Linked DNA regions of Homo sapiens: regions 1, 2, 4 and 5 are each linked to region 3. The links are contacts of gene promoters, found by promoter capture Hi-C in blood cells and fetal thymus (Javierre and others, 2016). All regions are on one chromosome and are shown on one strand. Each heading gives the region's core, a stretch centred on a gene start or on the middle of the fragment in contact. The rest is flanking DNA. Distances are from core to core; before and after follow the strand shown. Region 1 overlaps ARHGAP21 (Rho GTPase activating protein 21). Region 2 overlaps ARHGAP21 (Rho GTPase activating protein 21). Region 3 holds the start of PRTFDC1 (phosphoribosyl transferase domain containing 1). Region 4 has its middle 150 kb from the start of ARHGAP21. Region 5 overlaps ARHGAP21 (Rho GTPase activating protein 21).

What was found. The method cuts DNA at HindIII sites, captures the fragments that hold promoters and counts their contacts. A CHiCAGO score of 5 or more calls a contact.
Region 1: a fragment that was not itself captured here is called in contact with the fragment with the promoter of PRTFDC1 in region 3 in 13 of 17 cell types (non-activated CD4 T cells, total CD4 T cells, naive CD4 T cells and 10 more); the score reaches 14.2 in non-activated CD4 T cells.
Region 2: a contact is called between a fragment that was not itself captured here and the fragment with the promoter of PRTFDC1 in region 3, in 12 of 17 cell types (non-activated CD4 T cells, total CD4 T cells, naive CD8 T cells and 9 more). The highest score is 10.4, in non-activated CD4 T cells.
Region 4: a fragment that was not itself captured here is called in contact with the fragment with the promoter of PRTFDC1 in region 3 in 1 of 17 cell types (total CD4 T cells); the score reaches 5.2 in total CD4 T cells.
Region 5: a contact is called between a fragment that was not itself captured here and the fragment with the promoter of PRTFDC1 in region 3, in 2 of 17 cell types (total CD4 T cells and naive CD8 T cells). The highest score is 6.3, in total CD4 T cells.

What each region holds. Positions count from the first base shown.
Region 1 is chr10:24,648,833-24,651,532 of GRCh38, forward strand. The region is part of intron 4 of ARHGAP21 (Rho GTPase activating protein 21); the gene reads right to left. Among named protein-coding and RNA genes, the nearest start is that of ARHGAP21, 74 kb to the right of the region's middle. The HindIII fragment of the contact is 1,073 bases long and covers 915-1,987 here.
Region 2 is chr10:24,688,561-24,691,260 of GRCh38, forward strand. All of the region lies in intron 2 of ARHGAP21 (Rho GTPase activating protein 21), which reads right to left. Among named protein-coding and RNA genes, the nearest start is that of ARHGAP21, 34 kb to the right of the region's middle. The HindIII fragment of the contact is 2,275 bases long and covers 256-2,530 here.
Region 3 is chr10:24,951,199-24,953,898 of GRCh38, forward strand. PRTFDC1 (phosphoribosyl transferase domain containing 1) reads right to left here and starts at 1,408. Exons shown (of 9, transcript NM_020200.7): 1 at 1,330-1,408. The coding sequence starts at 1,377. It also overlaps a transcript of THNSL1 not described here. RefSeq lists a silencer at 1,569-1,758. The HindIII fragment of the contact is 20,553 bases long and covers 1-2,700 here.
Region 4 is chr10:24,573,820-24,576,519 of GRCh38, forward strand. No RefSeq gene overlaps it. Among named protein-coding and RNA genes, the nearest start is that of ARHGAP21, 150 kb to the right of the region's middle. The HindIII fragment of the contact is 9,489 bases long and covers 1-2,700 here.
Region 5 is chr10:24,590,388-24,593,087 of GRCh38, forward strand. It overlaps ARHGAP21 (Rho GTPase activating protein 21), which reads right to left. Exons shown (of 26, transcript NM_020824.4): 22 at 1,500-1,625; 23 at 1,255-1,296; 24 at 838-943. Among named protein-coding and RNA genes, the nearest start is that of ARHGAP21, 130 kb to the right of the region's middle. The HindIII fragment of the contact is 4,332 bases long and covers 1-2,700 here.

The DNA.
Region 1 (2,700 bases), core at 201-2,700, 300 kb before region 3:
TCACAGCCCCTTTATATCTGAGGCTCCCAAGTGTTTTAATCATGTCCTAGTCAGTCAGAAGACAACCCTGGAGACCTCCTTTCCCATATTTTCCCACCTGTCCACTAGAGAAAAACAAAATAAATATTTTGAAATTAACTTGTTACTAGCTACATATAGAATCACTTTTATTACCTTTGTGTGTGCTTATGTATGCATATGTGTACATGTGTATATATGTATATAAGTGAGTTTATACAGTTTACATGAGGAAATATTACCCATAATAGCAAACTACAGATAACTTGGTAATTTTATTATAACTACATCTTAATAGGACAAATACATGGGTAGCAAATTATCTAATGACTTATCCATGTACTAGCTAACTGGGCTAATATAGAGAGATGGGTAATTTATATCTGAACCATAGTGTATATACATGTAAAACCTAGCTGCTAGAAAATTATATCCTAAAATATTATTGATACCAGTGAAACAATATATGCCCAGGCCACTGAACATGAGCATCCACTTTAAGGACTTTTCTACCCAGCAAATAGAAGAAAAAGCCCAAGTCCAGTTAGGAATCTCTATCAGGAGACTCTCCCGCACTTAAGAGGAAGGGTAACTACAAATAATGCCCCCACCAACCCAGAGGCTACTTTGGAGCTGAACAAAGTAGGAAAAAGAAAAAAAGGAAGGGGAAAGATAACTCTAAGAAGTGGCCATGGGCTAAACTGCACATGGACATGGATTTTTAGGCTAACTCAGGTAACAGCCTGTCCCTGGACAAAAGCAAACACCAATCAACTTGGAGAAGAGATTTTTTGTCTTAGATCTCAAAGAATCCCCAAGTAATAATTTTTGAAGGTCATAAAACACAAAGCAGTTAAAAAAAAAAAACCATGGAAAACAACAATATTCTAAGCTAAAGCTTAGAAAACAAACCAGAGAAAACAAACAAGAGAAACAGATTCAAAAACTTCTGATAAAGGAATCACCAGGCACAGATTATAAAAAAATTCCGCTTACCATGTCTGAAGAAATAAAAAGATAAAACTAAAAGTAGTCCAGGTGAAGAAACTATAAGAAGTGATCAAGCATATTTGCTGCAGTACCCTAAAAAACTTCTCATAATCAAACTTTAAAACTTAACTAAAAAGAAATTTACTGAACATATATTGGAAGAAATTAACTAGAATGCAGACCAGAAAGACAAAAAAGAAGAAGAAAAAGAAAAACTAGAGAATTTAGTAGCCATGGGAGATGGAGTAAGAATGAAATAATATCTTCAATATTACTGAATAATTGTGTACCCAGCAAAAATACCTTCCAAAAATAAGGGCAGAACACAGATATTTCACAGAAAAAAGGAGAGAGAATTACATCACATATAAGTAACATGTTGGAGCCAGGCGCAGTGGCTCATGCCTATAATCCCAACTACTCAGGAGGCTGAGGCTCTGAGTAGTGCCTGAGGGGGACTGCCTGAGGCCAGGAGTTCAAGATCAGCATGGGTAACACAGTGAGACCCCATCTCTTTAAAAAACAACAAAAAAAGCAACATGTAGATAGGAAGGAGATAATGGAGTTAAAATGTTCTAAGGTCCTTATATTTTGTAAGAGTAGAACAGAATTTTAAGTAGCATCAGACTTCGATGTGCTTGCATATTGTTTCTAGGATAACCACTGAAAGAAGGGTAATAATGTTCTTTAACCTTTCAAGTAGAAAGTATAAAAGAAAAATTATTTTTTAATCTCAGAAAAGAGAAAAATATAAGAATGAACCAAGAGAAAGTTCAAAATAAAAGATTAAACAATAAATACATAATTAATTACATTAAATACATACGTGAAAATTTCTAAATCTACCTACAGTGAACTAGCTGGTTACAGAATCAACTCTTCCACCCATGAATAATAGCCAGAAAAGCTAGACGATGTATAACCACATTTGTGTGAAGGCACCAGAAAGCTACCAAGGCAGAGATGGCTTAATGGGACAAGCTTCCAAATAGATGGAAATCCAGAGAGGTGAGTCCAGTGCTTTGCACAACTGTTCACCTTGAGGCGTTTCCTGTTTCCAAAGTAATGGCTGAGAGACTGACCAGCTGCACAGAGCTTCCATCAATCTCAAAAGGCTGAGGAGACAAAAAAAAAAAGGAACTTCAGGGCCAGCCAAGGAAAAGAGCTCTAGAAAACACCATGTTTTCACTTGGGGTCCCCAAAAGAATACAACCTGTGAGCAGGGATGAAAAGAAAAAGGCCAACCATGTCAAGCATGGAGGTGGGCTGTTCCTCTGCACACCTCCTTCTGAAGAACTTGCCGAGGGGAAGACTGTGACTGACAGCCCCAGCTGCCGCCCTTTGGATCCATCACCATGTTCACACAGAGGCCACATTTCCCCATTCCTGCCCAAAGCAGGATTCTTCTAAAAGACAAGTGTTTGCCTGGGGACTCTTCACTGGCCTAGCAGAGGCATTCTTAGATCTGTGCTGCAGGCTGGGGCCCTTCCTACCAATTCTTTCCTTTCCTCTCTTCTTTCACAGGGGTCAGGCCTGTCTCATGGTCTCAGGTTTTCCCCTGTCCTCTCTTGCTTTCTTCTTTATCCTTTACAAGCATTGCCCCCAATAAGCCTTCTGCATATCTCATCCTGGTTTAGTTTATGCTTCCATCTTGATGTCTGCTACTCAACACCAATTATCAGATCAAGGCCT
Region 2 (2,700 bases), core at 143-2,642, 260 kb before region 3:
CCAAGACTAGATGGGGAAACAACTTATAGAAGATGACGAAATGGTTTTTCACATGTGTAAAAATATAGGGTCTCTATGTATCAGCTAGGGTGAAGGCAGTCTCATATCAGACGTGAATCACCCATTTACTCATTAGTTCTCAGTGAAGGTTGACTGTCATAGTCTGCTATTTCCAGGAGAGCAAGGGCATCCTGACACAGGAGTTAAGCTCCGTCCTAAAAGAACCCATGCCCCATGAATAGGAAGAAAGATGGAAGCTTAAAGGGAGTAGCATCAAATATACCTAGAATTACTCAATCTCAGAGATGGGGTTTCCTTTTTCTTTCCCTTCCTCCCACTCCAAATCTCTGAGACCTTTTGCTGAAAGATAGCTTAGAACAGAAATTCAATATACAAATATTGAATACTGTATACAGAGCTGCTCTGCTTGGGAGAGAGGCAAGGGCGTTTGTACAGAAACCTACTCTACTAATTCCTTGGAAACACTAACAGTCTGATAGAGACTTTTAAAATCATAGATCTAGTTGAGCCAATTTATTTTACAAATACAGACACTGAGTCCCTGAAAGACTCACTGGTGGCCTCATAGCTAATTAGTGACACAGCTTGGACTAGAACCTCAGTTTCCAATCTTCTGATCTTGGAACTTTTCCACCATACCACTAACAAATTGTTTTAACAATCTGAAGATAATAGCTATTGGCTAATGTATCATTTTTTTTCTAATTTATATTTATGAAAACATAATGTATGTTCACTTAGGATACACCAGAAAATAAATCTAAGCAAAAAGGAAATAATTTAACTTACCTGTCATTCCCCGTCTAGAGAAAATTATGTCAATACTTCGAGACATATACATATTCTTCCAGACTTTTTCATACATAAATATACACTGGCTGGAAGTGGTGGCTCACACCTATAATTCCAACACTTTGGGAGGCCAAGGTGGGCGGATCGCCAGAGCCCAGGAATTCAAGACCAGCCTGGGCAATATGGCAAAACCCCATCTCTACAAAAAATACAAAAAATTAGCCCAGCATGGTGGCACGTGCCTGTAGTCTCAGCTACCCGGGAGGCTGAGGTAGAAGGATCATCTGAGCCCGGAAGGTTGAGGCTGCAGTGAGCCGTGATCACGCCACTGCACTCCAGCCTGGACATCAGGGTCAAGGTCTCTTGTCTCAAAAATAATTATATCTATATGTATGTATATATGTGTGTGTATATATATGTATATATGTATATGTATGTGTATATATATGTATATATGTATGTGTATATATATGTATATATGTATATGTATGTGTATATATACATGTATATATGTATATGTATGTGTATATATACATGTATATATGTATATGTATGTATATGTATATATGTATATGTGTGTGTGTGTGTGTGTATATACACATACACACAAAAAATACATACTTTAGGAAAATCTTCTAACCTATTTCTTTTTATTCAATATTTTATGTAAGTCTTTCCATATCAATTACATATACCTACATCATTATTTTTAAAGACTACATGGTATTTCATTACATAAATAACATTTTATTTGTTCACTCTTCTCTTTGTTCATTATCTTTTTTACACTACATTACTACTACTATTATTATAACTACAACTGCCTTGTAGACCAGTGTCTATGAAAAACCATTGAGAATTACATTAGGATAAATTCCTAAGAATGGAGCTGCTGGCTCAAATGTTTACTTTTTGTTTGTTTTTAGTTTTAGACACAATATTTTAAAGTGCCATCCAGAAAAGCAGGGAACCAAATCCACTGACAGCATGAGATTCCTATATCCATATTCCAGCCAACACTGAGTATTTTTTTCATCTTTGCAAATATGTTAAAGATGAAAATGGTTCTTAATGTTTTAATTTTTTTATTCTTTCATTACTAGTGAGGCTAGACATCTTGGCATATAACATGCTATTCTAAGTGCCCCATAATATAAATAACATAGAAAAACAGGATGGGCGTGGTGGCTCACTCTTGTAATCCCAGCACTTTGGGAGGCCAAGACAGGCACATCACCTGAGGTGGCGAGTTCGAGACCATCCTGATCAACATGGTGAAACCCTGTCTCTACTAAAAATACAAAAATTAGCAGGTGTGGTAGCATGTGCCTGTAGTTCCAGCTACTCAGGACGCTGAGGCAAAAGAATCGCTTGAACCCAGGAGGTGGAGGTTGCAGTGAGCCGAGATCGCGCCACTGCACTCCAGCCTGAGTGACAGAGGGAGACTCCATCTCAAAAAAAAAAATATATATATATATATACACATATATATATACACACACACACATAAACACACACATACACACACACACATATAAAACATAGAAAGGCAGATACAATATAGTCTCCAGCGTCTTTAAGATTAAATTAGAAAAGTACATGGTGTCATTGGTGTTCAGAACACAGCTCTCATATAAAATTACAAATTGGGGTTAACAGGAATGTCTTAAAATATAGTAGCAGAACTCAAAGCAAAATCCCTGGGAACTGGAAAGGAAGCTTAAAATACACAGAAACTGAGAGGTCATCAGCTGGGGTAGCAGACCCCTTAGAGACAAGATAACAAGCCTTTCAGGGTAAGAGGATCAAGCTGTCTTACATTCTGATTAGTGTGAGCACTGGTATGTACCCTAACTTTAGGCGGAAACATCAGAGTTGGTCCAGCTT
Region 3 (2,700 bases), core at 158-2,657:
GACCACCTGAGCAAAAGCATCACTCCCCCCTTCTCCTCCAATTACCCTCTATCCTGTTACCCTCCTCCTATTGCACATATCTCTATTTGAAATTTTCTCTATTTGTTTACACACTGCTTGCCTATGTCTTCTCTAGAACGCAAGCTCATGAAGACAAGGCCTTTGTCTTTTGCACCCCAGAGCCTACAGCACCTCCTACAACCCAGCAGGACAATAAACGTGTGGAATGAATAAATCAACTCCTCATCCTTTCAGAAGGAAAGGTCCTGCTGTTAAATTAAGCACTGAGCCCCACATTTCAACCTGACCCTTCTGTCTGAATGTGACACGTTTCCCTCCCCAGCCCACTTACTTTAGTTCAGGCCATTCATATTCATAAACAGATTATCTGTGAATGACAAGCTGATCCCTGGAAAGAGATGGCAAGTTAGCCCCACCCACCATCCTCACCACCATTGAGTTTCACACTGAACCTGACACAAGTTATAACCACCACCTTCTAGGAAAACCACTTCTCAGGGAGCAGGGAGGACGTGGCCACAAGGTCAAGAACGGGTTGGATCCTAGCACACTGAGAGATGGGTACCCTCTGGCTGACACCGTCAGGATTCTCAGGGTTAATGAGGCTCAGTTCTGGGAAACCAGCACCCCACACCCTCCCATCCGGACACACTGCTAGATATTTTACATGCATCCTCCCAATTGGCTCCAGAGCCCAGCTTGCTGTTGCTCCCTTTTACAGACAAGCCATAGGTCACTCAGGAGCCGCCAGCGTGTCCTAGAGCTCCTGCAGAGGCCTCCACTGCCAGAGAGCCCCCAACCTGGGTACCAAAGGCTTCAAATCTCAAGCTCTGTCCACTTGAGCTACTTTATTTCCTAGCTGCCTTCAAAACCCCTCAGTGTGCTTTTTAAAAACAAAACTTGAAGCCCGCCCTGGAGGAGTCAAGAGGAGACCCAGGAAGAAGGAGGCCTCCAGAGCAGCACGCGGGGGTCTCTGGGGCCCTGCCGGGCTCGCAGAAGCGACTCCCCGTGGCTCGCGGGGATGGGGACGGCTGGGCGCCGGCGGGACGCTGCAGGAGCGAGCTACCGGCCGGAGGACACGGGGGGACGCTGGGAACTCGGGGTGAAGGGACGGGACTCAGAGTTTCGTCAGATTGGGGGCGGGGAGAGGAGGCCCGGGTCCGAGGATGGAAGCGATCCCCGCCGGGAGGGAGAACAAAGCGGTGGCCCTCTCTCTCCCCCGACGCACGGCAAGCATTTAATCTACAAGCAGGGTGCCAGGGAGGGAGGGGAGCGGGCCGAGCCCCAAAATAGGGAGTTTGCATTTACCACGACGCCTCGCCCGTAGTCTGGCGCCTCCTCGCTGCTCCCGGCCATGTTTCTCCCGGGGAACGCGGGAAGGGAAGACGGCGCGGGAAGGAGCAGGGAGGGCGAAGGCTGCGTGGGGGATGGGACGTGGGGATGGGGACGGGGACGGGGACGGGGACGGGGACGGGGACGGGTCCGCCCCGCCCCGGGCCCGCCGGCGGGAAGCAGCGGCCTGACGCGGATCCATGGCCCCGGCGCTGCGCCCCCTCCCCTGGCTAGGCCGCGGGGGCGCGGGGAGCAGCTGCCAAGCCGCTACCGCTCCCCCTGAGCGCGGGCCCCGGACGCGTCCCTTGCGGCCGCCGCTGTCGCCGCCGCCCCCTGCCGGATGGTCGCGTGCAGCCCCCGGCCCCGCCGCCAAGCCCCGCGGGGACTCTGGAGCAGGAAGCCCGCGGCAGGAAGAGAACGTGTCCCCCAGGCCCCTGATTCCCAGATCCACCGTCCCAGCCCTCGGGCTAACAATCTCCTTGACTCCTCCCTGCCAGATTTCATGCACGCGATTGTCCCAAGCAGAAGCGTGAAAGAGCCTGTGAGCCAGCGTGCTCTTGGAGGATGGGAAGTGTCCTGGATGTGTTTTCAAACCTTGGAGCCGCCACCCACCTCTCTCCACCTCCGCTCATCTCCCTCCACCTCCCCTCACCTCCCTCCACCTCCCCTCACCTCCCTCCATCTTCCTCCACCTTTCTCCACCTTCCCCCACCTCCCTCATCCCAGGGCCTGGAGCTGGAAAGATTACACCCGATTGCTTTTAGGGTGGCCCGGATCTGCAGTGATCAGATCTGGGCTTTGAGGATCCAGCCTTTCGGCCTTTCGTCAACTGCATTCAGGGGAGGAGGGGGAGAGATTTTTACACATTCTCTGCTTTACCAGTTTTGCAAGAACATCTGGTCAGATTGTAATTGTTCCAGGTTGCAGCTTTACTAAAGCAATCGCTCTTTTCTGATTAGAAATCCTTCTTGTATGAGTCTGTTGTTCATTTCAACCCCTCTCACATGCCTATGCTCCGGTTCTTTGTCCACTCCTGTAGGTTCCTGCTTTTTCTGGGTGTGTCTTCATTCCCCAGGTCCCTGACATCTCACCAGCGTCTTCATTCACTCAGCCCAATTCGGGTCGAAGCCCTGAATCCAAGAGAACTTAACACAGTTTTCCTGATGCAGGCGTCTTTTGTTCATCTTCGAATTCTGGCACACAGAGGGGAGAGGAATGCTGATTTTGCCTAGTTTAAAGGGGAAATAGTTATCAATCGGTTAATGACGTTCTAGGTTGGAAAAATATTAGTCATTCAGACTTGGCGCCCTGGTCCTGCTCAGCAGGGCTGGCTCTTCATGTCGTTTC
Region 4 (2,700 bases), core at 122-2,621, 380 kb before region 3:
TCCTGGGGGTGGGGGGATCTGATCTAGGTGGAGATCTCAGATTTTCCTTTCCTAAAATTGTCCTGAGCTAACCTTGGACAAATGGCTGAATCTCTCTGTGCCTGAGTTTCTTCATCATAAGACAGGGATATTATACTTCTGTATCATCCAGGGCTAGGTTCAGCTGCACATGACAGAAAACCCGAAGTAATACTGGTTGAAACGAGAGAAGTTGATTTCTCATATCCAAGCAGCCCAGAGGTAGGCGGCCCACAGTGTCATCTATTTGGGATCCACTGTGCAAGGCTCTCGTTTAGAGATTCCTGCGTGTTTCAAGGGGATGTGGAAGCCGGGCTGTGTCCAGTCTGTGGTAAGAGGAAAGCATATAGAAGCCCATGCCCCCTGCGTGTGCACGCAGTGGCTAGAGTTTGCGTTAAACCACTTCATCTAGTCCCGTGGCCACACCTAGCTGTGAAGGAGGCTGAGAAGTGTGGTCTCTAAGAAGCAGTACTGGGAAATAACCGGGACTCTGCGTCACAATCTGTTTACTGCACAGTTGTGAGACCTGTGTATTGATGCATATCAAATACTTGGGACAGGACCTGGCACACAGTATGTGCTCAGTGAATGCTGGCTGTTATACACGAAGTGGTGGAGGCAGGGAATTTGGCAGTACGGAAATGCGTATGTCCAAAGGAGAACTGCTTCTCAATTGTCCTTTCCTATTCTTTCTTATCCCAGATGAATTGCTGGGATTGGGTAGAGACGTAGAGTCAGTTGGGTAGAATGTATTGGCACTGGCTGGAGAGGCCAAAGGGTTGTTGTATTTCTAATTCAAGGACATCTCATTCATGCCAGGAGTGAGGGTAGTAATTTGGGGTTTACAGCAGTGATTGCAGTACTGTTGTGCAGCGGGTCCAGGCAGGTAGGGGAGGCAGCCTGGTGGGGCTGAGAAAACTGGGGAGCACACATGCACTCTCTAAGGGGTGACTGCAACCTGCCACTACCCTGTAGGGGGACTAGCGCTGCTAGACCTTCCAGTTCTTAAAAAGTCTGGATTTTTATGTGATATCTTTTTGTTCGCCTTGAACACTGTCTTATTATGGCCACAGGCAAGCAATCAGTTCAGTAAGACCACATGAGATGAAAATAATTAGGTGAGGGACAGGCTGGAAAAAGCTATCAGGAGCTGCAGCTGGAGGGCATGATCATGACAAATTCTGGGACAAGGTTACATAAGAAAGGACATCAGGGGTGGAGCTTCAGTTTTCAGCCCCTTCTCAGCTGGGTAAGAAACCCAAGGAAGGAAGAAATGCTAAAGCTACAGTTTTATGACTTTTGTTTGCATGATTTCTGCTCAAATAGGCTGGAGGAATGGGATGATGACTATATTCTAACAATTAAAATGCTGTCAATACTAGAACTGTAATACCACACTCCTTTAAACAAGAAAAAGCCACATTTCTGTTTTTGTGGTTGACTACATGATTTAAGTTTTTGTTCTGTTTTCTCCAACCCCTCCATGAGAAATCTCCAAGCATAAGATTATTTTGCTCATTTCTTGAGGATAAATCTGTTTGAATGATGTTTTCTCAGGGCAGGGATGGGAAGTGTCTGCTAATCAATAATGAACCCCCGGGAACCAAGAGGGTCTGTCAACAAAGCTCTAGCTCCCCTCGTTACCCCACGGCTCAAGCATCCTGTGGGGCCACAGGTAGCTTTGCAGAAGAGGTCACGCCAATGGAAAGGGAATAATTGGATATTTCTCCTTCTAAGAATTCATGAGAAGGAAAAAATGTGGAATGTTGTAAGAAAGTCAACATGGCCTAAGGGAAACTTTAATAGGCTTTTCAAGTCAGTCACGTGAGCCAAAACGGAGAGAGAATGATAAAGATGCAAGGCTCTCTGGCTGCTCAAAACATGAAATAAAGGAGACTTTTTTTTGGCGGGGGGGTGTCCACAGTATAGTCTAAAAATGTCAAGGCTTATTGCGCAGGTTAACGGTTTTTGATTTCTTGGTATCTGAGGTTAGCCACAGGGGAGTGTATTATTATAAAGTCACCTGGCTTCACGGTGGCTCTTGGTGGTTTTACTTACCGATAGACTTTTATTCTCAGATTCTTAAGATAAGGAATCCTCTAAGAAAACCTTCCTGAGACTCCTGAGTCTGAGCTACTAGGAATCTTACGCTGTCTTCCAAAGTCACTGTGTAAATGTGCATTTATCAATATGGTTTATGATTTCTCCTGCCCATTAGTCTTTAAAAAGCACTCGTTGGGTATTCTCAAAGATTAAAAAAAAGATGAAGTATCATTTGGGTATACTGAACTATGTACACCATGACAAACATTTATTTTTCTGGCTCAAAGATAATGATAAAATAAGTTTGCTACCCTGATTTGTATAAACTGTGAACACATGCTTTACCATATGAGAAAGCAGATCACCATAGGCACGAGTCAGTAGAAATATCAAAGAATCAAACCTGCTAAAACTGAAGGTATGATAGCTATTGGATCCAGATATAAAATAACAGAAAACACAATAACCGAGACAAGGATTATTATTTCTCTCATTTTACATATGAGGAAAACTAATATGTAAGTTGGGTAGCCTGTCCAAACACATCCACTTTGTAAATGGTAAGGTCTAGATTTGAAGTCAGGCAGTTTGGTCCTATAATTCTTATAAGATTTGTTTTATATTTTACAGAAATAAAAG
Region 5 (2,700 bases), core at 144-2,643, 360 kb before region 3:
GTCCTCCTTCTTCCTACAGTTCCAGCTGTCCATCAGGGACATCACAGAATCCACTAGTGACATTACCGTGTGATAGACTCCTCCCACTTCGCCTGTTCAACATCAGTATAGATTTGCCTGTGTCAGTAAGAGCTGAAAAAACCCTTTAGGACTAAAACAAGAACTAGAGACAAAGGGAGAACATTGTGTAAAACAACATGCTAGATTAGTGCAACAGTTTGGCAGGAGAAAGTTTTCATCAAAAGAGCCTAGAAGAACTAATACTTAACCAAGCATTAGGGTGGCAACAGGAAACAGAAGAAAATAAATGTCAAATAGGCTGGCTTTTTACTGTGACAAATAATACACTGTATTTATGAAAATGTATTTATGAAAATGGTGCCCATTACCAGTTCAACAGATTTAACTTGCTGCTTTTAAACAGAACTCCTGGCTCAAGAATAAGAACTACTTATACAGCCCAGATCATACTTTCTGCCATCACAGCAACCACATACTCAGTAGCATATATCTGTTTTACCTTGTGATGACTATTACATGGAAACTGTGAATTAAAAAAAAAAAAAAAAAAAAGAACAAAACAGTGGTTTGCATGCTCATTTCCCTCATAGTTCCATTCTGACAAACATTACAACTGCATGCACTGCCAATGGCATTAGAGTCACTGGAAGATAATTCAGATCAATTGGAAAAGGAAGATTAAGGTTTTTTATTAGTAGAAAGGAAGAGAAAAAGAAAAAAATCATAAGTAACAATTCACTATGATTGATTTGCTCTTTCATATTGTAAGAATGTAGCTTTCAGCCTAGAGGTCAAGACTGCCCAGGCAAGAGTTACCTGATACATCTCCTGGGGAGACTCCTGTCCTTCCAATGTTGGTGAGTAAATGATCTATGTTTGGCACTGGCTGGGAGTCTACTGTGCTTTCCTCCTGCACTGTTGTCTATGGTTAATAAACAAAGATCTCTTCATCATCTCTTCAAAGATACTTTCTTTAAAATTTAAACAACATTTAGTAAAAGACACATTACTAAGTAAAGCACCTGTGCTTAATGTGTTTACATTGTTTACGCATAATTAACTGCAAAATAAGCACCGTACTTGTATATTCATTAGATCAGAAACTGAGCTAGAGACCTGCTTCCGGGGCGCAAAGCGGACAATAGCAAAGCAGGAAGTTGACATTGTTGGCGCGCCAGGATCTTGTGTCCCAAATGAAACTACTGAGTACAAATGCTGACAGACAATACTTACAAGAGGCTCTTCAGCACCTTCTTCTGTGAAAAACCAGTCATGCTAAAATTTAAAAAAGGTGAGAAGAGAAATTAAACAAGCCTTTAAATATACTGAGATCTTGGAGGATAGTATAGAAAAAGGGTAATTTTCTTAGGGAAAGATATTACAACCAACCTCTGTCTGACCAAATAGCGGCTGCCCGTGAAAATGAATTTTCTTGCAGAGATGAAGCATGAACTTACAGAGATGAAGCATGAACTTACGTGCTGGATGAGCGTTTCTACAATCTTGTACTGGTCAGGCATGTGGGTGACCATGTGGGTCATGTTGTCTTCTGATGTTCGAACAAGGGTGGGACCAAACACTATTGCTAGGTTTCTTGGTTCCATCTGAAAGAAAGGATGATACTGGGAAATACCAGAATTTTTCTTAAGGAAGTAGGCTGAAATTGCCATTGTAGGATTTTTGATGAAAAAGAATAAACAGAAAAATAGCTTTGATGTAGATTAAAAAAATAATGCTTTCTAGCAAGATTTTTTTTTTTTTTTTTTTTTTTTTCTGAGACAGGGTCTCACGTTCACCCAGGCTGCAGTGCAGTGGCATGATCACAGCTTACTGCACTCTCGATAGAATCTTATTATGTTGCCAAGGCAGGTCTCGAAATCGTGGACTCAAGCAGTTCTCCAGCCTCAAGTGTCAGCCACCACAAGTGGCCTAGTTAGGATTTTCAAAGCAAATGTGTACAAAACGTTTTTTCTGCATTAATGATAATGTGCAATGCATAATTAGCATTCATTTTTTTCCAAGAAGACTTTGATTGAAAACAACTGATTTGGTTCAAAACGAGGGTTACCAAAGCTGGATTAACTGATAAAAATGTTAAAATCAAAGGAAAAAAAAACTTGCAGAAGATTACAGGCACACCTGTAGTCCCAGCACTTTGGGGGACCGAGTCAGGTGGACTGCTTGAGCCCAGGAGTTCAAGACCTCATCTCTACTAAAAATAAATTAGTCAGGCACGATGGTGTGTGCATGCAGTCCCAGCTACTCCGGAGGCTGAGGTGGGAGGAGGTCGAGGTTGCAGCCTGGGCGACAGAGTAAGATCCTGTTTGAAGAAAAAAAGAAAAAAAAAACAAAAAACTCCCTCCCCTTCAGAAATGAAAAGTGGAAGAAGTGCTGAAAAATACATGAAAGGTTATAGATTTTTCCCTCTAGTACATCAAAATCACTAATGTGTAAACACCCAGTGTCTGGAAATATTATTTCTGACCAATTTTTACTTGAAACCAATCTTCTGAAGCTACATTAATTTCCATATTTGGTATTCCTTGTATAATAATTATCAGATTGTCAAAGGTATGGATCTTTTGTTTTCCTTCATTAAATCTTATAGTATCTGATATATTTTGAATTCAGTATTTGATTAAAATAACTTTAATCAACCCTAATAACATCCCAGGGGGG